5 separate regions of the Homo sapiens genome follow, and regions 2, 3, 4 and 5 are each linked to region 1. The links are contacts of gene promoters, found by promoter capture Hi-C in blood cells and fetal thymus (Javierre and others, 2016). All regions are on one chromosome and are shown on one strand. The core of a region is centred on a gene start or on the middle of the fragment in contact, and the rest is flanking DNA. Distances in the headings are between cores, read along the strand shown.

Region 1 (5,180 bases), core at 1,249-3,748:
ATCGGGGACTATGAGCAAACATCACCCCTCCAGAGCCATTTGTGCTAAGGTCTATGATTGAGGGCTGTGCCTCTCCTAACTCTACATCTCCAGATTCTGATCCTTCAAAATGCAAGATACTTAATTTCATTATTTTTCTTAACAAACACTTATATGGCACTTAAAATGTGGCAAGCACTGTTATAACTGCTTTACAAATATTAACTCATGTAATCTTCATAATAATCCAATGAAGTAGGTGCTATGATTATGCACCTTTTACAGAAACTGAGGCAAAGAGAGGTGAAATACCTTTGTTGAGAATGTGAATACCCTCTTTGTAAACTACCAAGGATGACATTATCTTCTGGGTAACCTGTGTGCCACTTTTTCACTCAGCTATTTAATCAATATTTGCTAGGCACTTACTGGCCACCCTTCGAGATGCTAATTCATAGGAGGCAATCAGCAATGGAAACTGATAACAGTTTAAAAATAAGTAGACAAACAGGAGAGAAGGGAGAACCAGCTGGTGAATATCCAGGATATTCTCTGTACTGCCCTGCACGTTCCCCTGACCCCATGTGTTGGAATGGCCACGTAGCTATAGGATATTTCTGATCTGTGCCTCAAAATCGGAATAATAATTCGTATCGGTGCTTGCAAACTGCTGGCCTACAGCATCCAGTTTCTGCAGGGTTCCAATGCTACCTTTGTGTTAAACCCACAGTGTTTTTTTCTAAAAATCAAAATCATGTTTATTCCACCATTACCTAGATACAAACATAAAGTAGCTATAAACTTCTAATGTTTATAATACCAATGAATCAGAGCCAAAAATATTATAAAAACCTTCACTACTTCATAAGGAACAAAATTCAAATCAACATTAGTTCATGTCACACACAAAAAATTATGAAACACTTTGAAATGGCCAGAAAAAGATTACTGTTTAGTACACGTTTCCAGGTTTTCTCTGCTTTTTATTGTCTTTGACAATACAAAATTTTACAAATTTGTAAGCTGAGGAAAATTGATAGTAATGAAAATTTTTCTTGTCCATAAAATACAAATGCATAGTGTTATACAGTGCCCAGGAGAGACAGTGATTACAGCTCTGTGGATATTGACCAGTTTAACACTCATGTGTAAATACATTTCAGCATTCCTGCTTGCTTTATGTATTTTATCTCTCTTTATCTTATCTTTTTGAGACAGGGTCTTGGTGTGTCACCCAGGCTGGAGTGCAGTGGTGCAATCATGTCTCAGAGCAACCTCTACCTCCCGGGCTCAAATGATCCTCCCACCTCAGCCTCCCAAGTAGCTGGGATTACAGGTGTGAGCCACTGTGTCTGGTCTGAATAAAGGAATTTTTAACTTTTAATTTTAACTACTTTAAATTTAAAAACTGATGTTTGGTTCAGCGATTTGAAAACAGTATATTTGGAACCGCTTGGATATGAGAATCTGCTTTTTAACCATACATTGATGAAATCTAAATAGAGAACAAGCATTTCCGATGACAGCTGCTCTCTCAGATTGAAATGCACTGCAAATGTAAAATACACACCGGATTTCAAAGTCTTTGCAAAAAAGAATGTAACATATCACATTCCTTTTTTTATTGATTGATTACATGTTGAGTATTGATTGGTTACATGTTGAAATGATATTTCGGGTATAATAAAGTGGGGTCAGGGAAAAATATTTTTCCCAAATAGGAAAAATAAATGGGTAAAATAAAGCGTACTATCAAAATCAATTTTACATTTCGTTTTGCTTTTATTTATTTATTATTTATTTTTGAGACCAAGTCTAGCTCTGTCGCCCAGGCTGGAGTGCAGTGGCGAGATCTCGGCTCACTGCAACCTCCGCCTCCTGGGTTCAAGCGATTCTCCTGCCTCAGCCTCCAAGTAGCTGGGATTAGAGGCGCGTGCCACCACGCCCAGCTAATTTTTATTTCTTTCCTTTTTTTTTTTTTTTTAGTAGAGAGGGGGTTTCGCCATGTTGGCCAGGTTGGTCTCGAACTGCTGAACTCAAGTGATCTGCCCGCCTTGGCCTCCCAGTGTTGGGATTACAGGCGTGAGCCACCGCGCCCGGCCTTCTTTTTGTTTTTAAACGTGGTATTGACATTTTAAGATGACATCTGCAACTCGCAACACTGGGACAAGGGATTCTGGGTCATAAATTCTCCCATTCCTCATTTACTCTGCAGCACCGGGTGGCTGCGAACTCCGCTCTTCTGCTTGGGTTTCCGCATCACCAGCAGCTTCTTTCCTTCCCAGGTGTCGCCGCCTGCTTTCTGCAGCCGCTGCCTGGGAGGGGTTCCGAGGTTCTGGGCAGCCACAGCCCCGGAGGCCTTACAGGAGCGACCTGGCAATTCCCGCCGCCGGCCGCCAGAGGAAGCTGCTTTGCTGCTGTCGTTGCCCAGCAACTCGTAGCCCGGAAGCAGTACCCCGTCTCGCTCGGTTCCGCGGCGGCCACGCTCCGGGAGACTTCCGGCAGGGCGGGCGCGGGGTCTTGGCGAACGGTCTTCGGAAGCGGCGGCGGCGCGATGACCACGCTACGGGCCTTTACCTGCGACGACCTGTTCCGCTTCAACAACATGTGAGTGACACGCGCCTAGGGCCAGCCGCTCTTGGCCGGGCCTCGCTTCCCGGCCCCGCCAGCTCCGGCCCCAGCCGCGCCTTCCCGGCCGGACCCCAAGCCCGGACGGGGACCCGCGAGAACCACCCCCCGCCGGCCAACGTGGGCGCCTCCCTGGGGCCACAGGGTCCAGGGAGAGGTGGGCCTGGAGTCGACGCACGCCGGCCTTGGCGACCTTGGCCGAGGTGCTCAAACTTTGTCTCTGGACCCTGCGAGCTGGCAGGTTCTGGGGCAGCGCTCGGGCCTCCGCTCGTGGTCGCTGTCAGGAGGCGCTGGGGTGATGGGGCGAGCTGGAGACGCGGCCTGGAGCCCACGACCTGGGCTTCTCGCCCTGCCCTACTGCTTGCTGGTTCGTGGCCGGGCCGCGCCTCTTCTGGGCAGAGGGCACCGCCGACGGCCAGGCCGCAGAGGGGGCTTGCGAGGATCGGAAGCTGGTCAGCAGCTGTTGGGATGTGTACATCGTGAAGCCCACCTGGTGGCCGTGGTTAAATTGTATCCAAATGAAATGACACTGATCACTGCGTCCCCTGCAGCAGATGCTGTCTCAGTCATGGTTAGTGTTTGCAAGTTTAGTTACTGTAGCTGCGCACCCCGGTGTACACACCTTTCCTCTGTGAGGAGTCACGGCAGATCTTAGGGGAGGCTCGCTGTGCCCAGAGCCCTGGATGCAGTTTCTTTGGATTCGAGTTAAGGCCAGACCTCTGATTTGCAGGTACCAATTTTTTTTTTTTAAGAAAACATTTTATTATGAAGATTCCCACACATTTAGAAAAGTTGGAGGAATTTCACCATGTGCTTTTATAGACACTTTTCCTGGATTCTGCAGTTAACATTTTGCTACGCTGGTATCTCTCCTTCCTTCCCATCTATCAGTCCTGGATCCACTTTAAAAAAACAACAGGGCGGTATGTGAAAACTAAGGACAAAGTGGTTCCGATTCAAGTGTCAGGAAGATGGAAAGAACTATGGGATAAGATGGCTGGGAACATTTCAAAGAGGGGGTGAGCCTTGAAGATGGATAACACATTGGTAAGTGAGGAAGACGGAAGTTCCGGAGAAGGAGCGGGGCATGAAAATGGGGAAACTTGAAGTGCGGTCAGACAACTGGGATCAGTGCGAATCTAGTGGCTGGTTTCTGCCACTGAGCAGTCAGGAAGAAATGGGTGAAACAGGAGGGGTTTAGACTTGATCCTGTGGAAAGAATTTTCTGTTGGGCCAGTCTGGTAGCTACGGTGACTTGTGTTGAACTCACTGTTCCCTGCATTGTTCTGAGTGCCCACGTAATAATCCAGTTAATCCTCACGATTCTTTGAGGTGCTGTCACCCCCATTTTGTGTATGAGTAAACCAAGGCATGGCAAGCACAAGTGAATTGGCCCAGGTGAGAATGAGTAAAGCGAGGAACTTCATCCAAGGATATTGGCTCTGGAGCAGTGGTTCTGAAAGACTTGGTGCCTGTGGTCAGGGGACCATGTTAGAAACGCACATTCCGTTTGCGATCCACTGCTCTGGAGTGGGTCTTAACCCACCTGGAGCCTCTGGAGAGGCTCACCCTCTCTTTAAAGTGTTCCCAGCCATCTCATCCCATAGTCCTTTCTATCCTCCTGACCCTTGAATCGGAACCACTTGGTTTTTCGTTTTCACTTACTGCCCTGTTGTTTTTAAAAGTGGATCTAGGATTGATAGGTGGGCAGAGAGAAATGATGAAGCCAGTGTAGCAAAGTGTTCACTGTAGAATCCAGGTGATGGATTCAAATTCTTAACCACTGAGCTCTGTGGGCTGTCATGTGATGACAGCAGGTAAACTGGGCAGGTAAGCCATTCAGGAGGCCTTGGCAGTGGCCCAGAGACGATGACTTGACAGAGGCTTCAGTTTGGGAGGTGCAGCATGGGAGGTGACAGGGTGCCTTGAAGCTTCAAGAAAAGGCAGAGCCTCATGGAGAATCAGTTTTAACTGAAGATCTAGGAAAGGACAACAGTTTTACATGGAAATGAATAGAAAGAAAATACACAGGAACACTTGCAAGAAAATATTAGATTTCAGAGAATCATGTGGCCTCTTCAGAAGGTGCCAGTAGGGGAACTCCACTTATTCCCCATTTTCTTTTATTTTTTGAGACAGGGTCTCGCTCTGTTGCCCAGACAGGAGTGCAGTGGCACAATCCTAGGTCGCTTTAGTCTCAAGCTCCCAGGCCCAGGCAATCCTCCTGCCTCAGCCTCCCGAGTAGTTGGGACTACAGGCACGTGCTGCCACACCCCACTAATTTTTAAATTTTTTTGTGGAGACAGGGTCTTGTTTTGTTACCCGGGCTGGTCTGGAACTCCCAGGCTCAAGTGATTCTCCCACCTAATCCTTCCAAAGTGCTGGAATTACAAGTGTGAGCCACCACACCTGGTTCCCATTTTTTTGTATTTACTTGCCTCTTTGATTAGGGCATTTTGGTAGAAAACTCTGAGAATGACTCAGATTAGATGATGCAGTTGGAATTGAAATAATCCATGGATGTAGAACACTGCAATTAATTTAACACATATTTTATTCTTGGAAAAATATTT
Region 2 (5,180 bases), core at 2,681-5,180, 1.9 Mb before region 1:
GAGGATATATGCTGATTCCATCATGTTTATGGAAAGGAGTGAAAAAGGCCGGGCACGGTGGTTCGCACATGTAATCCATGCACTTTGGGAGGCTGAGGCAGGTGGATCACTTGAGGTCAGGAGTTCAAGACCAGCCTGGCCAACATGGTGAAACCCTCTATCTGCTAAAAATACAAAAATTAGCCGGGCTTGGTGGCATGCACCTGCACTTCCAGCTACTCGGGAGGTTGAGGTGGGATAATCACTTGAATCCAGGAGGCAGAAGTTGCAGTGAGCCAAGATCGTGCCACTGCACTCCAGCCTGGATGAGTGAGATCCTGTCTCAAAAAAGAAAGAAAAGAAAAGAAGGAAGGAAAGGAAAGAAAGGAAAGAAAGAAAGGAGTTAAAAAAATACTCTCAGGAAGATCCTAGGAAAAAGTGCAAACCATGACAAGAGCATCTAACTGTATTGCAAACATATGAAACGATATCACTGAAGGGGTGGAGGGCAAAGGTGCTGATTTGGTAACTTTGGAGTAAATGAGGTCTATAAAGCCAAAAGCAATAGGAACTGCAAAAAAGCATGGTACTCTAGTAGGTAAAGTTGTTTCCCACAAAAAAAAAATGACATATAATTATGAGGTAAACAATTCTGAAACTGCTATACATGTACACTGGAATCAAACAATTGCGCAAGTGGATGGTGGAAAATGGGAGCCTGAATTCTCACTGATGGAGTAGGAATTTACCAATAAAAAAAGGAGGTTAGAATAATCCATCTGGTAATGGACTAGAGTTGCAGACATCAGCAATATCTCACATTTTAGTCAATATAGATTCAGGTGATTACATATAGAAATATTTGCAGATATGTAACATACACAGATAAGTATACACACATATATTTATGTGCTTTGTCAGCTGAGAGGGCCCAAAAGAAACAAAGCCCCAGTAGCAATAAGCATGCCAGGACCTATATCTTGGATTCCAATATTATTCTACAATAAAAAGAACCTTGGATTCTTGGAGAAATGGCAGATTCTGAGACTTGGGCAGGAAATATACAAGATTAGCTCAGAATATTGTGCAGTGTCAGAAAATAGACAAGTGCTAAACAAGAAAAACACACATTGATGAGGGTCCGTCAGAGAAGCAGAGGAGCTGAAAGATCTCCCAACGGCCAAAGCGGGAGCCATCTGAGCAACAAAATAAAGTAATATTGGATTATAACCCAAAGTATAAAATAAATACCCACCAGTCCACACTGATAGAAACAAATGATTGAATCAGTTACTAAATGGGAGAGAAGAGACAAACCTGTGCAGAATTTCAGATTACTTATATAGATACTGCATTGAATTCATGGTGATTAATTCCAGTACCAGAAGAAAAACTGGCTGTTTTGGAGTTCCTGAGAAAATATCTATTTTCTTCAACATGTCACCTTCCTAAAATGTTTTCAAGGGTAGTTTTAACTGTTTTTGACTTTTTCCTTATGTGCTGACTTCAGAGCCTCAGCCTGAAGAAGGTGGGATTTCGTGGCCTTGTCTGCCTATAGAGCCCACTACAGGGCCATACACAAGGCAAGCCTTCTTGCTTGCATTTAAAATAGTCATAATGGTGCTTTATGCGGTGCCATGTGGTGTGATGTTTCTGTAATCATTTAGTGCTGAGACTGATAAATTTATCAGTCACTGGTGCCAGTTCAGCTGACACCCTCCACCTTCTTCCCAAACAAACCTCCTCCTTCCCACCTCCTCCTTCTCTCTCAGCCCCAATGATGACAAGCTTCTGATCATTGCCTGAAGCCTCTGCCTTGACCTATTGCATTCATGCCCACCATCAAGCCCAGTTTAAACCCGTGCCTCCTACTGATACCTCCTGCTAGGGTACTAGTGATTTACTATTCTTTAAGACAGAAGTGACCCGAAACCCAGCTCTCCCAGGATAGCTGCCAGGACCTGGCCATGATTCAAGCCCAAATAACATAAGCCAAATTACACACTCAGTGAGGAAGGCATTTTTTTCAAGTCCCCACCCTTGTGTGAGTGAAGGTGGAACAAAGATTGTGTGACCATGTTGTTCAAACACAGGAAAATGACTGCATTCCCTCCCCTTAGTTTTCATTTGTTGATTCTTCTCCAAGCCCTGACTTCCAACTGTACTTCTTTTTTGATGCTGCCTCTTGCTTAGAGGATTCTGAAGGGAAGGACAGGGTAGTATGCTGTTCTAAAGAGTATGGGACTTTATCCTGTAGGCATGGGGAGCCACTGAGCGGTTTTTAAGGTGGTCAGCTTCCTATTTTTGTCTTTGGAGGTAAGTTCACTCTGAAGGCCAGCCAATGGCAGGGCAAGGCACCCACTGTCCTCTCCAGGAAAGCAGTGGCCATTCTGGGCACACCTAAGTCAATCCAAAGCTGAGAGGGGCAGGAACTGATGTGATCTTAGGATGCCGAGACACTAGAATATAGCCAGATACACAAGGTTCAGATGTTCTGGCCTTACAAGCAAATTGTATTAAATCAGCCATGCTTCCTAAGCTTCGTCCCACCTTGGTAAACATAAAAAATAAGGATATCTGTACAACTCACTGGGATCAACTTGCGTGAGCTTGGATAATTCTAAAAGGAGCTTCATGGATAATAATTATTTACATTTCCTTTATATGGTACTCTTATAAAAAAGAAAAAGAAAAACAAAAAAATAAATGACATATAATTATGAGAAGAAAAATAAAAGCAAATCTTGGGGTAGATTTAAATATCAACTTTGGGTAAAATTTCCTGATAACATTCTTCTTGGAGTCTCTTTTAAATATCAAGTTTTGTGTTAAAAATAGTTCCTGATCATTGCTCCTGCACATAGTTCTTGATCAAGATTTTTTTTTTTTTTTTTTTTTTTTGAGATGGAGTCTCACTCTGTCACCCAGGCTGGAGTGCAGTGGTTTGATCTCGGCTCACTGCAACCTCCACCTCCCGGGCTCAAGTGATTCTCTTGCCTCAGTCTCCCAAGTAGCTGGGATTACAGGCACCCACCACCACACCTGGCTAATTTTTGTATTTTTAGTAGAGACGGGGTTTCATCATGTTGGCCAGGCTGGTCTCGAATCCCTGACCTCAAGTGATCCACCCTCCTTGGCCTCCCAAAGTGCTAGGATTAAAGGTGTGAGCCACCACGCCTGGCTGATCAAAATCTTTTTAAATGATCATCTCTTTAATTTTTGATAGTTACCATGGAGAAAAAACTTTTTTTTTTTTTTTTTTGAGTTGAAGTCTCACTCTGTCACCGAGGCTGGAGTGCAGTGGCTCACTGCAACCTCTGCCTCTCGGGTTCAAGCAATTCTCCTGCCTCAGCCTCCCAAGTAGCTGGGATTACAGGCATGCGCTGCCACATTTGGCGAATTTTTGTATTTTCAGTAGAGACGGGGTTTCACCATATTGGCCAGGCTGTTCTCGAACTCCTGACCTCAAGTGATCCACCTGCCTTGGCCTCCCAAAGTGCCTGGAATACAGGCATGAACCACCGTTCCCAGCCAAAAAGCTATTTGATACAAGAAGTGATGATAAAATGTAAAGCCATCGGCTATGAACCAATGGGAAAAAAAAGAAAAAAACACACAATAAAAAATCAAAAGGAAATAAAGACAATAAAAGAAACAAAAAAGAGCCATTTTTTTTCTGTTCGTATAGTTATGTAAGATTTTGTATAGAAGTGTATCATGCATGTATGTGTGACCACACAGCCTTGGTGTGCCACTGGACCAATTTTCACAAACACCCAGTACCAGCACCCAGTACTAGAGTTCTAGATCAGCCTAGCCAACATGGTGAAACCCCATCTCTACTAAAAATACAAAAATTAGTGCAGCCTGGTGGCTCAGGCCTGTAACCCCAACTACTCCAGAGGCTGAGATACAAGAATCGCTTGAATCTGGGAGGCAAAGGTTGCAGTGAGATCACCCCACAGCACTCCAGCCTGGGCGACGGAGTGAGACCCTGTCTCAATTAAAAAGAAGAAAAGAAAAGAAAAAGAAAAAAATAGTTGCTTCTCAGTTTGATGATATGCAGTCACTCTCACAAATCAGTAATTTATGCGACAATAATCACGGAAAATATACTGCTTAGGCTTATAAATATTTAAACAGATAAACATACTTTTTTTTTTTTGCAAGACCTCCCTCAGTCCCCCAACCCACTTTTTTATTTGACACAGTTAATAATAAATGATTTCTTAAAAGTAGAATACTTTTTTTTTTGCTTCTAGTATCCTGAAAATAAAGAAAAGAGTACATTTCAAGAAAACAAGTTGAAAAATTAGTCACAATAAAATGAAAGGCGATTGATCTAATTCCCTGATGTACACTCTAAGGACATACAGCTCTGTTGAAGGCTCACTGATTTACAGGGGAAAATATCTAGGATATACCACGAATAAAAAGAAGTCTAATATAATTTTTAAAGAGAAATATGCAAATACACCCTGAACTGAATTTCTTCTCAAAGTTCATTACAGCAAGAACTCCATTTTCCAATTCAGTGGTACATTCTCTCTAGGCTGCAAAAAATGCTGTGGACAAAATGACATTTGGAAAAGGTATCTTTAAAGATACCTTTAAGAGCAATAGTCCCCTTATGCCATTTACGCTCACATAAGAGACTGGAATAGCAAAGCACTATGAACAGTAATGAATGTTGTAAAACTCCCTGGTGAGGCTTAATCAATACTGCCTATAGCCGTGTCCACCGGAAGAAGCTCGTTCTCTGTGAATTCTAGTGGGAAAGAATGATTGAATGATGAACACGTTTTCACTGGTTGCTCTATCAGATACTTAAAAGTTTCTGGGAGGCCTTGCCTTTTTTACCCGAGGAAGAAGTGAAAATGCGTCTTGCACAATTGCTTAACTATTCCCAACGCAAGACTTCTTTATATCATTTATTTCCCTTGTATTACTGGCGCGGAAACTTGGGTGTAAAAGTGATCACAAAGATTACATGGGGCCAGGCGCGGTGGCTCACGCCTGTAATCCTCTCGGGAGGCTGAGGCAGGAGAATCGCTTGAATCCGGTAAGGTTGCAGTGAGCCGAGATCGCGCCACTGCACTCCAGCCTGGGCGATAGACAGAGACTCTGTATCAAAATTATAATAATAATAATAATAATAATCCGAGCCTGACCAGTCGCCCCACAGCGTCAAGGTGAAACCA
Region 3 (5,180 bases), core at 1,409-3,908, 1.5 Mb before region 1:
TTGCAAGGACCAAAAGGAAAGCTGGTGTGGTGTAGCAGTGTCTTAACAGATGTCCCTCCGCAGCTATAGTTTCTCTTCTACCCGCTTGAAGAACTGTATCTAAATTGCAATCCTAAGTTACAATAATTTGGGATCTATTTGAGTCATTGATATTAGCTGGAAAAATTGAGATGTAATCTGAAATTACATAACTAATTCTTATATTTATTAAAATTAACATTTTTAAAAATAGTCCTATGAGAAAGCCATTCTGCATATTTTTTTAATCTTCCTATCTCATATGCCATTACATTGGGAAGAAAATAAAGCAAAATATTTACATACATTCCCTTTCCATATATAACACTTATTTCCTTCTTTGAAAAAGAAATCATTGCTTCTCACACAGGGCTTTTAGCAGCCATAAGAACCCTAGGCTTCCTTTTCCATCTCACAAATACAATGTTGTATAAATAATGGATTACATGCATGCAGACACTCATCTAAAGAGTGTTTTTGTCCCACTTGAGGATGGCAGTTGACCTTGACCCAAATTTAAGTTTGTATTTCACATTTACAATCTAAAATGAAAGTATCAGAAAACAGAGATAAGGGTACAGATGATAAAATTCCATTGCATCCATGATTTTTCCTTCCATTATAAAAACGTCGTTTTCATAATTTTTTTTTTCTTTTTTTTGAGATGGAGTCTTGCTCTGTTGCCCAGGCTGGAGTGCAATGGTGTGATCTCGGCTCAGTGCAACCTCCGCCTCCCGGGTTCAAACGAGTCTCATGCCTCAGCCTCCCGAGTAGCTAGGACTACAGGTGCATGCCATCAGGCCCGGCTAATTATTTTTGTATTTTTAGTAGGGACAGAGTTTCACCATGTTGGCCAGGCTGGTCTCAAACTCCTGAGCTCAGGTGACCCACCTGCCTCGGCCTCCCTAAGTGCTGGGATTACAGGCATGAGCCACCATGCCCAGCCCTTTCCATAAGTTTTTTAAAAGTTTGCCACACTGGGATTCCAAGAAATTTCTAGTTAGAAATTATAAATCATTATAATAAGTCTTACAAAGCATTATACTTATTTATTGTTTAGCATACTTTTGCTACTTTAGCCAGCATTCTTTACTGTTAGCTTTATACTGCTAGCTTTGGAATGAGACACAAGTTAGAGGAATAACATTAAAAATCCATGAAAACCAGAGTTCAACTTATTTTACTTTACTTTCTTATAGGAATATGGAGCAGAGATATCCGCTATAAAAGTAATTTGCCATTAACAGAAATCAACAAAATTCTGAAGAATCTGGAAAGTAAAAAGCTTATCAAAGCTGTTAAGTCTGTAGCAGTGAGTAGTCCTTTCCTCAGATACCCACTTACATATGTTGCTTCAAGTTTTTATTCTTGAAGTTATGTCATGATTTAGAACAGCTGGTCAAAAAAGACTTAAAAATTTAGCTCATGTTGGATTGGTTTGGAGATGCTGCTTAGACTTGTCCCTACACAGTTAGCTCTTGGTGTCTCACTCACCCACTCAAAAATCTAAAACTACTTTACTGTCTTCAGTGAAGAATCTTTGGAACTGTGAACATTTTTCCTAGATTTTGTGGTGTGTAAGATAATTTACTTTATCCCGACATATTAGCTTTCTCATTCAACAAAGAGTGTTTGCTGTGTGCCAGACACTGTTTTGAGTGCTTGGGATACATTAATGAACAAGTCGTAGAAAGATCCCTGCCTTGGTGGAGCTTCTCTTCTAGTACACGTGTGTTTTTCCTGCTCCTCATCCTGCCCCACCCCTGCTCCAGAGCTGGCTCCCTCGGGGACATCTGCCCCTGACCTCACTGATTTAGACATCAGAGGAACTGAGATTCCCCTAGAATAAAGTTTGCTTCAATACACATTTCATAAGAATTACAGCTATAATTCAAATTTTATAATTTCAGAGCTGTTAGGTCTGTGGCAGTGAGTAGACCTTTCCTCAAATATCCGCTTACATATGTTGCTTCAAGTTTTTATTTTTGAATAAAACAAGAATTATAAGAATTATAACATCACTTATAAGAATTTGATGCTTATTAGTGATTTTATTTATCAGAATAGCATTTCCCTTCCACATTGTTTAATGGATAATTTCAAATATATACAAAGGTAGAAAAAATCATATAATAAAACCCTATCATGTAGCCTCATTTTGTCAGTCCTCCTTCTACATCTTTATGTTTAATAACAGCTCTGCTGAAATATAATTCATCATTCATACTACAGAATTCATTCAACCTTTTAAAGTGTAAAATCTTTGGATTTACAGTCACTGGTTTTTACTATAAGCTAAGAGTTGTGCAACCATCACCGCTGTTCTAATTTTAGAACATTTTCATCACCCCCAAATGTGGCCACTAGTATTTGTTTCCCAGCCTCTCTTTCCATAGGCCCTAAAAACGAATAATTTATTTTCTGCCTTTATTATAGATTTGCCTATTCTGGACAGTTCCTATAAATGGAATAATAGAATATGTAGTCTTTTATGTATGACTACTTTGACTTAGCATGATGTTTTCAAGATTTATCCATATTGTGCTTTATTCCTTCTTATTGCCAATTAAAATTCCATTGTATAGATGTATATCACCTTTTGTTCATTCATCCGTTGGTGAACTTCTGTGTCCTTTTAAGGGTTAAAATAATCTTAGATCTCAGTGTAAAGTGCAAAACTATAAAACTTTTTGAAGAAAACATAGAAAATCTACATGACCTTGGCTTTGTTAATGAATTCTTGGACTATAACTCCAATAGTAGTCTATGAAAGAAAATGTTAATAAGTTGGAGTTTATCAAAATTTTTTGAAAACCTCTGCTTTGCAAGACACATTAAGAGAATGAAAAGACAAGTTACATACTAAAAGATATTTGCAAATCACATATTTGATAAAGGACTTGTCTCCAAAATATACAAAGAACTCCTAAAATTCAGCAATAAGAAAACAACACTTTGGGAGGCCAAGGCGGGTGGATCACCTGAGGTCAGGAGTTCAAGTCTAGCCTCACCAACATGGTGAAACCCTGTCTCTACTAAAAATACAAAATTATCCAGGCGTGGTGGCACATGTCTGTAATCCCAGCTACTTGGGAGGCTGAGGCAGGAGAATTGCTTGAACCCAGGAGGCAGAGGTTGCAGTGAGCAAGATTGCACCATTGTACTCCAGCCTGGGCAACAAAAGCGAAACTCCATCTCAAAAAAAGAAAAAAAAAAAAAAACACACAATGAAAACAAATAATCCAACTAAAAATGAGCAAAAGATCTGAACCTCACCAAAGAAGACATACAGATGGCAGATAAGCATATGAAAAGATGCTCTACATTATTTTTCATTAGAGAACTGCAAATTAAAATAAAATTTAGTATAGTGAGATACCACTACACACCTATTAGAATAGCTAAAATCTAAAAATTGGTAATACCATATGCTGACAAGATACAGACCAAGATGAACACTCATACATTGCTAAGAATGCAAAATTTTCAGTCCTTTTGTTAAAAAACTGGGCAGTTTTTACAAAACTAAACAGAGTCTTACCACATTGTCCAAAGGTCAAGCTCTTAAGTATTTACCCAACTGATTTGAAAACTCATGTCCACATAACTACATGAATATTTATAGCAGCTTTATTCGTAATCAGCAGCTTTATTCATAATCAAAAACTGGAAGCAACCAAGGTATCCTTCAATAGGTGAATGGATAGACAAACCAGAATAGTATTCAGTTATAAAAAGAAATAAGCTATCATGAAAAGATATGAGTAAATCTTAAATGCATATTGCTAAGTAAAAGAAGCCAGTCCGAAAAGGCTACATACTGTATGATTACAACTATATGACATACTGGAAAAGGCAAAACTAGACAGACTAAAAAGATCGGGGTGAGGGCAGGGATGGTAGGGAAAGTTGAATAGGTGAAGCATGAGAAATATTTCTAGGGTGGTGAAATTATTTTGTATGACAGAAGCATTAACCAAATTTGGAAGCCCACCCAAGCTTTGCTGTCCAAAGTTTTTATTAGGGTTTCATTATACAGGCATGATTGATTGAATCCTTGGTCATGTGAGTGAATTCAATCTCCAGCTCCTCTCTTCTCCCAAGAGATTGGACTGATGTCATGTGGCCCAAAGCCCCAACCCTCTAATCATGCGGTTGGTCTTTCCAGCATGGACAACTCCTATCCTGAAACTATTTAGAGTCCTATCAGGAGTCACCTTGTTAGCATAAACCCAGGTGTGATCTAAGGGATTCACCATGAATAACAAGGCCTATTGGGAAATTCCAAAGATGTAGAAGTTATTTCCTAGGAAAAAGGGACAAAGTCTAGCCAAATTTTTTTCTTTTTTTTTTTTTTTGAGACATGGTCTGGCTCTGTCACCCAGACTGGAGTGCAGTGGCACAATCACAGCTCACTGCAGCATCAACCTCCTGGGCTCAAGCCATCCTCCCACCACAGCCTTCCAAGTAGCTGGGACTATAGGCACGTGCCACCATGCTCAGCTAATTTTTGTATTTTTGTAGAGACAGGGTTTTACTATGTTACCCAGGCCTGTCTTGAACTCCTAGACTTAAAGATCTGCCCACCTCAGCCTCCCAAAGTGCTGGGATTACAGGCATAAGCCACCATGCCTGGCCCAAATTCTTCATGTTTACAACCCAGTGAAATTTGGGTTCCTCAGTGTTGGGGTGAGTAGTTACAGACAAACAAGGAAAGTTAGAATGATCCATGTAGTAATGGATTAGACTTGAAAACATCAGTATGGACTCTTGTGTAATTTAATATAAATAATATAGATGGTTATATTTAGAAATATTGAGTATAGCTATGTATATATACAAGGGTTAATATGCGCACATAAATCTCGTGCTGCCAACTGAGAAGGCCTAGAAGTGATGACATCCCGATGGCAATGAACACATCTAGTGCCCAAGTCGTGGTTTCTATCATGCAATAAAATGAACATGTAGAAAATGCTCCTGACGGCTGGGCAGGGTGGTTCATGCCTGTAATCCCAGCACTTTGGGAGGCCAAGGAGGGTGGATCACCTGAGGTCAGGAATTAGAGACCAGCTTGGCCAACATGGTGAAACCCCATCTCTACTGAAAATACAAAAAAATTAGCTGGGCATAGTGACGGGCGCCTGTAATCCCAGCTACTC
Region 4 (5,180 bases), core at 941-3,440, 1.3 Mb after region 1:
GCTTTGACTATACAGATTTAAAATGCTGAAAAATCAGATAGGATAGTTGACTATTGACACTGTGTAGATTCAGGTTATGTACTGTGATTTTGTTTTTTGTGCTGCTTTTGTCTTTTTCCCTGGGGCTGTCTTTCTTTTTCCACTTTACATCTTGCCGCGCCCGGACTCTATTTTACCAGGTAGTCTATCAAGAGTCATCTTTCTTCTTGAATAGTCCTTCTTGGGGTCTTATTTATTTTTGTTGCTGTCACACCTGGCTATTCTGTAGGCTTGCTGGAAAGCTGCATCTGGGATTTTATTATTATTATTGCTATCATATCTTTCTTCAGTGGGAGGTACTGTTTTCTGGATCATCATCTTACTTCATTTGTTTATTTATTTAGAGACGGAGTCTCGCTATGTCTCTTAGGCTGGAGTACGGTGGCATGATCTCGGCTCACTACAACCTCTGGCCTCCTGGGTTCAAGCCATTCTTCTGCCACAGCGTCCAGAGCAGCTAGGACTACAGGTGTGCGCCGCCACGCCCAGCTGATTTTTTTTTAGTAGAGACGGAGTTTTGCCATGTTGGTCAGGCTGGTCTCGAACTCCTGACCTCAGGTGATCCGCCTGCCTCAGCCTCCACAGTGCTGAGACTACAGGCATGAGCCACCATACGTGGCCTTTTTTTTTTTTTTTTTTTTTTTGGATTTTTAGTAGAGACGGGGTTTTGCCATGTTGGCTATGCTGGTCTCTGTCCTGACCACACGTGATCCGCCTCCCTGGGCCTCCCTTGTGCTAGGATTACAGGTGTGAGCCACGGCGCCCGGCCCATCTTTCTTCCTTTAAATCGTTTTCTTAGTTTTTATTCTTAATTCTTTTTTTTTTTTTTTTGAGACGGAGCCTCGCTCTGTCTCCCAGGCTGGAGTGCAGTGGCTCAATCAATCTCGGCTCACTGCAAGCTCCGCCTTCGGGGTTCACGCCATTCTCCTGCCTCAGCCTCCTAAGTAGCTGGGACTACAGGCGCCCGCCACCACGCCTGGCTAATTTTTTTGTACTTTTAGTAGAGACGGGGTTTCACCGTGTTAGCCAGGATGGTCTCGATCTCCTGACCTTCTGATCCGCCTGCCTTGGCCTCCTTATTCTTAATTCTTAAGAAATGCTGTGTGGGATGTGAGATTTCCGAGTCATTGTAGGACCCAAAATAGCTCCATTCTACCCTTATACACGTGAATGATCATTAGCTAGGCATGGAATTCGAGGTGTTTTTTTTTTCTTCTTCTTTGAGACGGAGTCTAGCTCTGTCACCCAGGCAGGAGTGCAGTGGTGTGATATCGGCTCACTGCAGCCTCCACTTCCCGGGTTCAAGCCGTTCTCCTGCCTCAGCCTCCCGAGTAGCTGGGACTACAGGCGCGCCACCACGCCCGGCTAATTTTTGTAGTTTTAGTAGAGACGGAGTTTCACCATGTTGGCCAAGCTGATCTTGAACTCCTGACCTCAGGTGATCCACCAGCCCCTGCCTCCCAAAGTGCTGGGATTACAGGCATGAGCCACCGCACCTGGCCAGGAATTCCAGTTTTAATATTAGGTTCCCTCAGAACTTTGAAAGAAATTGTTCTTTTGTACTCTCTCATCTAGTAGTGTTGATGACAAGTTCGGTGTTAATGTGATGTATTTATTTAACCAGCAGTTATATAGCATTTACCATTGTTTTAAGAACTTTATTATAACTTGTTTGATCCTCACAACCACATGACTTCTACTGTTGTAATTATTTTTATTACATACAAATAATAGAAGCACGTTATTTGGAGACAACCAATATTGTTATTATGTTATAATAATTACTATGTTTATTGGCCGGGTGCGGTGGCTCACGACTGTAATCCCAGCACTTTGGGAGGCTGAGGTGGGTGGATCACGAGGTCAAGAGATCCAGACCATCCTGGCTAACATGGTGAAACCCCATCTCTACTAAAAATACAAAAATTAGCTGCGCATGGTGGCGCGCCTGTAGTCCCAGCTACTTGGGAGGCTGAGGCAGGAGAATCACTTGCACCCGGGAGACAGACATTGCAGTGAGCCGAGATCCCGCCACTGCACTCCAGCCTGGTGACAGAGCGAGACTCCATCTCAGAAAAATAATGATTATTGTTATGTTTATTATTATTTCAGATGAGAAAATGGAAACACAGCAGGGTCGCGTATCATACCCAAGGTCACTCAGCTGATAAATGTCAGAGCTAGTGTGGAAACCAGAAGGACTTAATTTTTATGCTCATATGCTTTCATTCTTTTGTGATCAGTTTTCCTTCCTAGATTTTAAAAAGATCTTTTTCTTGATAGTGTAAACTTTCATTATTAGGTACCCAGGTATAGATGTTATTTTAAATTCAGATTCATTTTGATCAGTACGTGGCTCACTCTTTGAGTCTGGAGTCTTACGTTCTTCGGTTTTAGGGAATGCTGTTTGATGATTTCTTGACCTTTTTTTCTTCCCTTTCCAGACTCAGGATACTGGTCCTCTTAGACTCATGTATTTTTATTTTTATTTTCTCTCTCATTCTCTGGCTTTCCTTGAAACCTCCCCCAACCTTTGGTGTTTTTGCAGCTTTGTTGAGGTATACTTGACATAGAATAAACTGCAGGTAATTAAAGTGTACAATTTTCTTTTAACTTTTTTCGAGTTGAGGTCTTGCTCTGTCACCAGGCTGGAATGTAGTGTGCAATCATGGCTCACTGCAGCCTCAAAGTCCTGGGCTTAAAGTATATAATTTAATACAGTGCATACATCTGTGAAACCAGCACAACCAAGACAGTGAACGTGACCTCTAAAACATTCCTTCTGCCCTTTTGTAGTTCCTTTCTACTATCCCTCCCTGCCACCTGTCTTTTGCCAACCACTGACTGGTTTGCTTTCTGACCGTATGATAAGTTTTCATTTTCTATAATTTTTTATAAATGAGATTATATAGTATATACTCATTTTTTGCCTCAGTTACTTTCATTCAGTATACTTATTTTGAAATTCTTCCGTTGTTGTATGTGTCAGTAGTTTATTTCTTTTTTGTTTTTATTTTTTTTTGAGATGGAGTCTCGCTCTGTCGCCCAGGCTGGAGTGCAGTGGTGCGATCTCGGCTCACTGCAACCTCCACCTTCTGGGTTCAAGCAATTCTCCTGCCTCAGCCTCCCAAGCAGCTGGGATTACAGGCACATGCCACCACACCCGGCTAATTTTTGTATTTTTAGTAGAGATGGAGTTTCACCATGTTGGCCAGGCTGGTCTTGAACTCCTGACCTCAAGTATCTGCCTGCCTCGTCTTTTAATTTTTGGATAGTATTCTGTGTGTAGATACACCACATTTTATTTATTTATTCAGATGATTGATGAACATTGGGATTGTTTCCAGTTTTTGGCTTTCTGAAAAAGAAACCTATGAACATCTCTGTACAAGTCATTGTAGGGACGTATGCTTGCATTTGTTTGGGGGAAAAACATTAGGAGTGAAATGGTTGGATTGTATATTAGGTGTGTGATTACTTAAAAAGAAAAACCTGCCAGACTTTTTTTTTCAAACTGGTTGTGCCATTTTACATTGGCATCAGCAGCATATCAGGGTTCCAGTTGCTCAACTTCCTCACCAACACTTGATATAGTTAGCCCTTTTAGTTTTAGGTAGTCCAGTGTACTGTTACCTTATTGTGGTTTTAACTTGCATTTCCTTCAGATGCTTATTTGCTTTCTGTATATCATCACGGGCAGGGTGAGGCATCTGTTCAGATCTTTTGCTCATTTTTATCTTCGGTTGTCTTACTTAAATGTAGAGTTTGTTACATATTCTAGATAGAAATCCTTAGTTTGATATATCTTTTGCAAATATTTTCTCTTGATCTGTGGCTTGTCTTTTTACTTCTTAACAGTGTCTTGGGAGCAAACATTTAAAAATTTTAATGAAGTCTGATTAATTTTTTCCCTTTATATTTCTGCTTTTTGTATTTAAGGAATCCTTTGTCAAAGCCAAGGTCTCCTGTGTTTTCTTAGAGAAGTTTTATAGTTTTACTTCATTCTGTGGTTTCCATTTTTTGGTCTAGTCATATGGTGAATTATCGGTCTTTAAATGCTAAAGCCACCTTGCATTCCTTGGATAAACCTCACTTGATCATGTTGTATTATTTTTATATACGTTGAATTCAAGTTTGCTAAAGTTTGCTAAAGTTTTCTTGAGAATTCTTGAGAATTGTGTCTCTGTTCACAAAAGATATTTGTAGCATTCTTGTAATGTGTAGTTGAGATGTCAGAATAATGTTGACCTCAAATTGAGTTCCTTCAGTTTTTTGGAAGAGTTTGTGTAGAGTTAGTATTGTTTCTTCCTAAAATGTTTGATAGAATTTACCAGTGAGGCCATCTGGACTTGGAGTTTTGTGGGAAGGCTTTAAGCTGCAAATTAAGTTTCTTTAGTTGATCTAGAACTATTGAGGTTACCTATTTATTTATTTATTTATTTTTTGGATGAGCTTTTTTAGTTTGTATCTTTCACAGATTTTGCCCATTTCATCTAAGTCAAGCTTGTCCAACCTGTGGCCTGCAAGCTGCATGCAACCCAGGATGCTTTGAATGCGGCCCAGCACAAATTCGTAAACTTTCTTAAAACATCATGAGATTTATGCACAGACCTTTTCTTTTTTTTTCAGCTCATCAGCTGTCGTTAGTATTAGTGGCCCAAGACAATTCTTCTTCCAAAGTGGCCCAGGGAAGCCAAAAGATTGGACACCCCTGATCTAAGTAGTTGAATTGGCTGACATAAAGTTGTTCATAGTATTTTCTTACTATCCTTTTTTTTTTGTTATTAAAATGTTTTCACTCCTGTTTTTACTTCTCTTTTGTTTTCTTTTTTCTTCCTGTTAACTTGTTATTATCCTTTTAATATTGTTAGAATCTGTAGTGATGTTACCTCTTTCATTCCTGATACTTGTAATTCTACTTTCTTTGTTTTGTCCCATTATCAGTCTGGCTACACTGTTCTCAGATAACTAGCTTTTGGTTTCATTGATTTTCTTTATTGTTTTTCTGTTTTCTATTTCTTTGATTCTGCTCTTATATGTATTTGTTATGCTTACTTTGGGTTTAACTTGTTTTTTCTCTTCCTTGTTTATTAAGGTAGAAGCTGAGGTCATTGTTTTGAGACATTTCTTCCTCTCTGATA
Region 5 (5,180 bases), core at 1,955-4,454, 1.1 Mb after region 1:
CCCTAGCAAATTAATATAATATCCAAGCAGTTATTGACTAAATATACATGATTTAATTAAAAGCAGCATAGTGTGTACATTTTAAAATATAAAATGCTACTGCAGGCCAGACACAGTGGCTCACGCCTGTAATTCCAGCACTTTGGGAGGCCAAGGCAGGTGGATCACCTGAGGTTGGGAGTTCGAGACCAGCCTGACCAACATGGAGAAACCCTGTCTCTACTAAAAATACAAAATTAGCCAGGCGTGGTGGCATATGCCTGTAATCCCAGCTACTCAGGAGGCTGAGGCAGTAGAATCGCTTGAACCAGGGAGGCAGTGGTTGCGGTGAGCTGAGATCATGCTATTGCACTCCAGCCTGGGCAACAAGAGTGAAATTCCGTCTCAAAAAAAAAAAAAATTTCTGCTGCATTGAGAGGCCGAGATGAATCAGAACAGGACTTGTTGGGTTTCCCACTCAATTAGTGTTAGATCATGTCCCCTTTGTCCAATCACGCTTCTACACGACTGTCGATCATGCCTATCCAATAAAGTCCCCATAAAAGACCCAAGGGGACAGGGTTCAGGAAGCTTCTGAGCTGGCTGAACATGTGGAGGAGGTTCCTGGAGGGTGGTGTGCCCGTGGAGGGCATGGAACCTCTACACCCCTTCCCCCAGACCTCACCTTATGAATCTTTTCATCTGTATCTTTTGTGATATTCTTATAATAAACTGGTAAATGTAATGTATATATACATATATATGGAAATATGTTGAAATTAGAATTTCCCAATATTAGAATATATGTACAATTCTAATTTCAATATATTTTCCAGAATCAATTTTGTTTTTGAGCTACAAAAACAACAATTTCATTTGGTTCACCCAAAGATTCATGTGACTTCTGGGCCGAGACACTGGCTTCCCTTGCTGTTTGCTTAATGGGACCACTAGGGATCCATATTTTGAACTAGACTCGTTAATATTACATAGATTTCCAGCTAGGTGACTTTGGCCAAGCCCCTTATCTGCCCTGAACCCTTTTTCCCCTGTAAAACAAGGGGGTGGGGCTAGACTCCCTCTAAGTTCTAGCTAAGACATTCTAGGACTTAGAGGAAGCCTTGATCTAGGCAGACTTGATGACCCTTGGTCCAGTGAGCTAAAAGCAGGGCTGCTTACAGAAATCAGCTCAGCTAAATAAAGAGTTTGAAGAAAAATATTAAAATAGAGGGCTCTGGCAAATTAAATATTCAAAGTGAAGAACTCAGAATTTATTGAAAGCCTGTCACCATTTAAAATGCATAATTTTAGCATAAATACTCTAGAAATATTCCTTTTGTTTGCTATGTGTTATTGTTAATAAAGGAGATCCTACATCTAGATTTGTCATACGTCATTAATGAATCAACCATAGGATGTAAATTATAATTATTTTGAATTATCTATTTACTGTTTAATTACATTTAATTTTAGATTCTCCTAAAATGGCCTAATAAAAATTTTGGGTGCTAAATGACTGCCTCATCTGCTTACTCTGTGCTACTTGCTAAAATTAGTTATATTAATTGTTTGGGGATTCTTTTTCTTAAAAAAAAAAACTAACCCTGGGGGCATGGTCCTAAATAAAATATCCTAAAAATTTAATGCTTTTCTTTTCTTTGCCAGGGTTGTAGTAAAATGTTAGTTACACTAAACTCATTAAAATAAACCTTTGCACATTACCACTGAATCAATTGGATATAATCTGAATAAAAACTAAATAAAAGTCACATCAGTGCTACCCTTGGACCAGGGCAAGAAGGCCTCTGCCCTGGCTTCTGTGTATTAGAGGTTCTGTTCTAGCCCTTCTCTGCCCATGCTGCTCCACGCAAGGCAAGGAGGTCCCAGGGCCAGATGACAGGCCCACCTGGGGTGCTCACACACATACACACACATGCTCTTCTAGAACACGTTCTAAGTACCCAACACCCTTACCTTCCCTGCTCAAAGGGGCCCAAGCTGCTTTCTAAGGCTTTAAAAGGCCTCTTGGCTGGGTCTTTCCTGCAAGGGTGACCATCACTGGCATGCTCACTGCCCGGCCAAGAGGAGGCTGAGGTGGGGATGTAGGCAGAGTTGGGACTTGCTGGCTGGAGAAGAGGAGGAGAAGAGGCAGGGCACACACATCCCTGCTAGTGTATGAGACCCCCTCACAAAGCAAGACTGAGCCTGGGGTGGGAAATGGAGTTGGGGGGAGCTGGAGAAGCAGGCAAACTAAATTCCACCCTGGTTGTCCAGGTTCTTAAGAAGGCATATTGGTCAAAGTGGAGAGGAGAACACGTATTTTACCTAAGTTTGTTATCTTGAATTATAATTCAATATTTAGGCGGATGGTATGAGGGCCTCCATTCACACTCTTGCCCTGGAACTGGCAAATGTGAATGGAAGGCTGAGTAAAATCATAGTTTTGTGTTGTTGGCCTTTGAGTGTTCCATCTCTCTTACAATTTTAGTTTGTCACACCTTGCACCTTGTATGTGTAAGTAAAATTAATGGCATAGGAAAGAAACCAAAAGAAGTGAACAATAAGAGACTAAAGAAACTCTACAGGCCGGGCATGGTGGCTCATGCAAGTAATCCTAACACTTTGGGAGGCCAAGGTGGGTGGATCACCTGAGGTTGGGAGTTCAAGACCAGCCTGGCCAACATGGTGAAACCCCGTCTCTCCTTAAAATATAAAAAATACCAAAAAAAACAAAAATTATCTGGGTGTGGTAGCGCACACCTGTAATCCCAGTTATTCAGGAGGCTGAGGCACGAGAATCTTTTGAACCCGGGAGGCAGAGCTTGCAGTGAGCCGAGATCACGCCACTGCACTCCAGCCTGGGCAACAGAGTGAGACTCTGTCTCAAAAAAAAAAAAAAAAAAAAGGAAAGGAAGGCAGAGAAGCAGGCTAAGGCTTAATTTTTCTGCCCAGTGGGTTTTGAAATATGGTTGGCTTCCTTCAGGAAGCTTTTTCCCGACGTTGGTGATGATAATAAAACCTGATGCTTTCTATGTGCTGGGCCCACTTATAAACACTAACACATATTAACAATCGAATCCTAAACTAATCCTGTGTTAACAGCCTCCCACTTTACATATGAGGAAACCTGGGGTGACTTGCACACGGCTTGGCAGCTGGGACGTGGATAGGGAATGTACACCCAGGCAGTCTGGCTCCCGGGCTCCTGCTAGAGGATCCTACAGGACATTAGGAGCATTGTCCCTTAGAGCTGTCTGCACAAACGTCTGCTTCCCAAGCAACTAGTTATCAACTTTTCCCTCTCGCCAACGATACTGGCACCTGGAACAATCCTTAGATTCAGCACGGATTTTCGAGTAAGGGGTTGGTCCACTGTCGGGGCTGAGCACGGCTGTTTAGCATTTGAGGGTTTGTCTTTTTTTACTTGGTGTTTTGTGTCGCTTTTGAGTGCTGATATAATAGAACAAGCTTAGTACAGTGCCTGGCACTCAACAAATCCTGGCAAGAAAGGAGATCGAGGAAAAGAAGCAAGCGAGAGACGAAAGAAAGGGAGGGAATGCGCCTTGTAACATTAACGTAGCTTGTGCGAATCCTGGAAGGTGAGGGGAAAGGAGACACCGCGTCAAGGGAGAGAGGAGAGGGCACCGAGCGCCCGCCCCTCCGACGTGGTCCGCCCCGGCCTCACGACGCCCCGCCTCTGCCACGCCTCTTCCCCGCCCCATGCAGGTCTTCGTCCCGCCCCCCACAAAGCCGGCTTCCGCCCCGTCCCTCAGCGGCGCCCCGCCCCCACGGCGTCTTGCCCCGCCTCCTGCAGGCGGCCCGGCGCGGTGTTTACCCGCGGTGCATGGTGGGGCGGTCTCCTTCGGCAACCCCGGCCGAACGGCCACCCAGAGGCTGTGCTGAGCTGGCGCAGCGGCAGCAGCATGAGCCGGACCCTCGCATCGGCCGTGCCCCTGTCGAGTCCCGACTACTACGAGAGGCTGGGCCAACTCCAGCACGGGCTGCGGGACAGGTAAGGGCACTGGGGCGGGGGTGGGGAGTCGGCCCGCGCCGGGGGTCTTCCGCGTGCCCTGCCCCATTTTCCTTCCCGCTCCCCCGTCCGAGGTTCCCCGGGGCCCAGGCCCGCGCGCAACGCCCCCCAGGCTCCCAGTGGGGCCTGGAGGACAGTGTTTACTAGAGCCACCCCCTGTATTGGGGGTGGGAGCGGAGAGAGGTGAGAGACCGCCCCCGCCCCGTCAATAGCAGCTAAAGCCTGGTCTACGGTTTGAGGATGCGGCCGCGTCACAGAATTTGCCCAGAAGTGAAGGTGGGAGTTCTTCTGCCTGTCACTCTCCATCAAGCCTTGTGAGTTTCTCTTGTCCCCTTTTACACGCCCCCTCCCCACTCTCTTCAAATTGCCATCCCGCCGTGACAGCTGCACTGCATCAATGATGACAAGTCCTGGAACGCAGACGGTTGTGTGTGTGTGTGTCAAACATGTGCCCCCGTTTAAACTCAGGAGACTTTTAGGGGTAGCGAGGGCTGGCTAGATTTCCAGCGAAGGGATGAAATTTCCAGCTAGAGAAGTCCAGCTTCCAGAGGGTTCATGATGCCTTTGATTAAGATATGAAAGATGGGAACCACTGAAAACAGCTAGATCTAAGAGTGCATATAGAGAGAAAATTATACCGCAATGTACTATGAATAACCACGTAAAAGATAAATTGCTGGACCTCTTATTTAGCTGCTAAGTTAATTGGAGTTGTAACTCTCATTAGTTGACAAGAAAGGAAATACATTTTTGGATCTCTTGATAAACAAAACATTTAATGAGTGTTAAAAGTTACAAAATCATTCTAGTGAACAGGAGAGCTGTGTGCGTGACAGTGCTAAAATGATAACAATAATTACATGGAAAATAAAGGCAGAAGTGAGCGATTTTGAAAAGGAATTACATTTATCTTACGCTAGATTTAATTCTTGTCAGATATTTATAGAGCATCTACAACAGGCTTCCTTAATTGTCGTTAGCATTTTTTTTACCTTGTACTCCTTTTCTACGTCCTATTTTCTTTCTGACATGTCACCGCTCACCCATATCAGTGACCTCTTAATTTCTGACTTTAAAAAGAAATCTCTTCCTGTAGAGCCTTCCCTGTTTCAACCCATTCCCTAACTTTTGTGACTCTTGGCATTCTTACAGCACTCATAAATGGCATTCT

The links. Contacts are between HindIII fragments. The CHiCAGO score rates a contact against its expected background, and 5 or more counts as called.
Region 2: a fragment that was not itself captured here is called in contact with the fragment with the promoter of NAA20 in region 1 in 1 of 17 cell types (non-activated CD4 T cells); the score reaches 6.3 in non-activated CD4 T cells.
Region 3: a contact is called between a fragment that was not itself captured here and the fragment with the promoter of NAA20 in region 1, in 1 of 17 cell types (total CD4 T cells). The highest score is 5.7, in total CD4 T cells.
Region 4: a contact is called between a fragment that was not itself captured here and the fragment with the promoter of NAA20 in region 1, in 3 of 17 cell types (non-activated CD4 T cells, naive CD4 T cells and total CD8 T cells). The highest score is 5.9, in non-activated CD4 T cells.
Region 5: a contact is called between a fragment that was not itself captured here and the fragment with the promoter of NAA20 in region 1, in 2 of 17 cell types (non-activated CD4 T cells and activated CD4 T cells). The highest score is 6.1, in non-activated CD4 T cells.

Annotation. Positions count from the first base shown.
Region 1 is chr20:20,014,864-20,020,043 of GRCh38, forward strand. NAA20 (N-alpha-acetyltransferase 20, NatB catalytic subunit) reads left to right here and starts at 2,499. Exons shown (of 6, transcript NM_016100.5): 1 at 2,499-2,586. The coding sequence starts at 2,534. RefSeq lists enhancers at 2,006-2,185, 2,800-3,300, 3,762-4,961 and silencers at 2,506-2,575, 2,626-2,745. The HindIII fragment of the contact is 8,583 bases long and covers 1-4,536 here.
Region 2 is chr20:18,132,179-18,137,358 of GRCh38, forward strand. It overlaps a transcript of KAT14 not described here. Among named protein-coding and RNA genes, the nearest start is that of KAT14, 3.1 kb to the right of the region's middle. The HindIII fragment of the contact is 2,828 bases long and covers 2,517-5,180 here.
Region 3 is chr20:18,473,858-18,479,037 of GRCh38, forward strand. It overlaps POLR3F (RNA polymerase III subunit F), which reads left to right. Exons shown (of 9, transcript NM_006466.4): 5 at 1,218-1,330. Among named protein-coding and RNA genes, the nearest start is that of MIR3192, 5.8 kb to the left of the region's middle. The HindIII fragment of the contact is 2,714 bases long and covers 1,302-4,015 here.
Region 4 is chr20:21,304,894-21,310,073 of GRCh38, forward strand. All of the region lies in intron 1 of XRN2 (5'-3' exoribonuclease 2), which reads left to right. Among named protein-coding and RNA genes, the nearest start is that of XRN2, 4.2 kb to the left of the region's middle. The HindIII fragment of the contact is 4,700 bases long and covers 1-4,540 here.
Region 5 is chr20:21,122,214-21,127,393 of GRCh38, forward strand. KIZ (kizuna centrosomal protein) reads left to right here and starts at 3,869. Exons shown (of 13, transcript NM_018474.6): 1 at 3,869-3,991. The coding sequence starts at 3,903. RefSeq lists enhancers at 3,338-3,437, 4,338-4,387 and a silencer at 3,598-4,177. The HindIII fragment of the contact is 481 bases long and covers 2,965-3,445 here.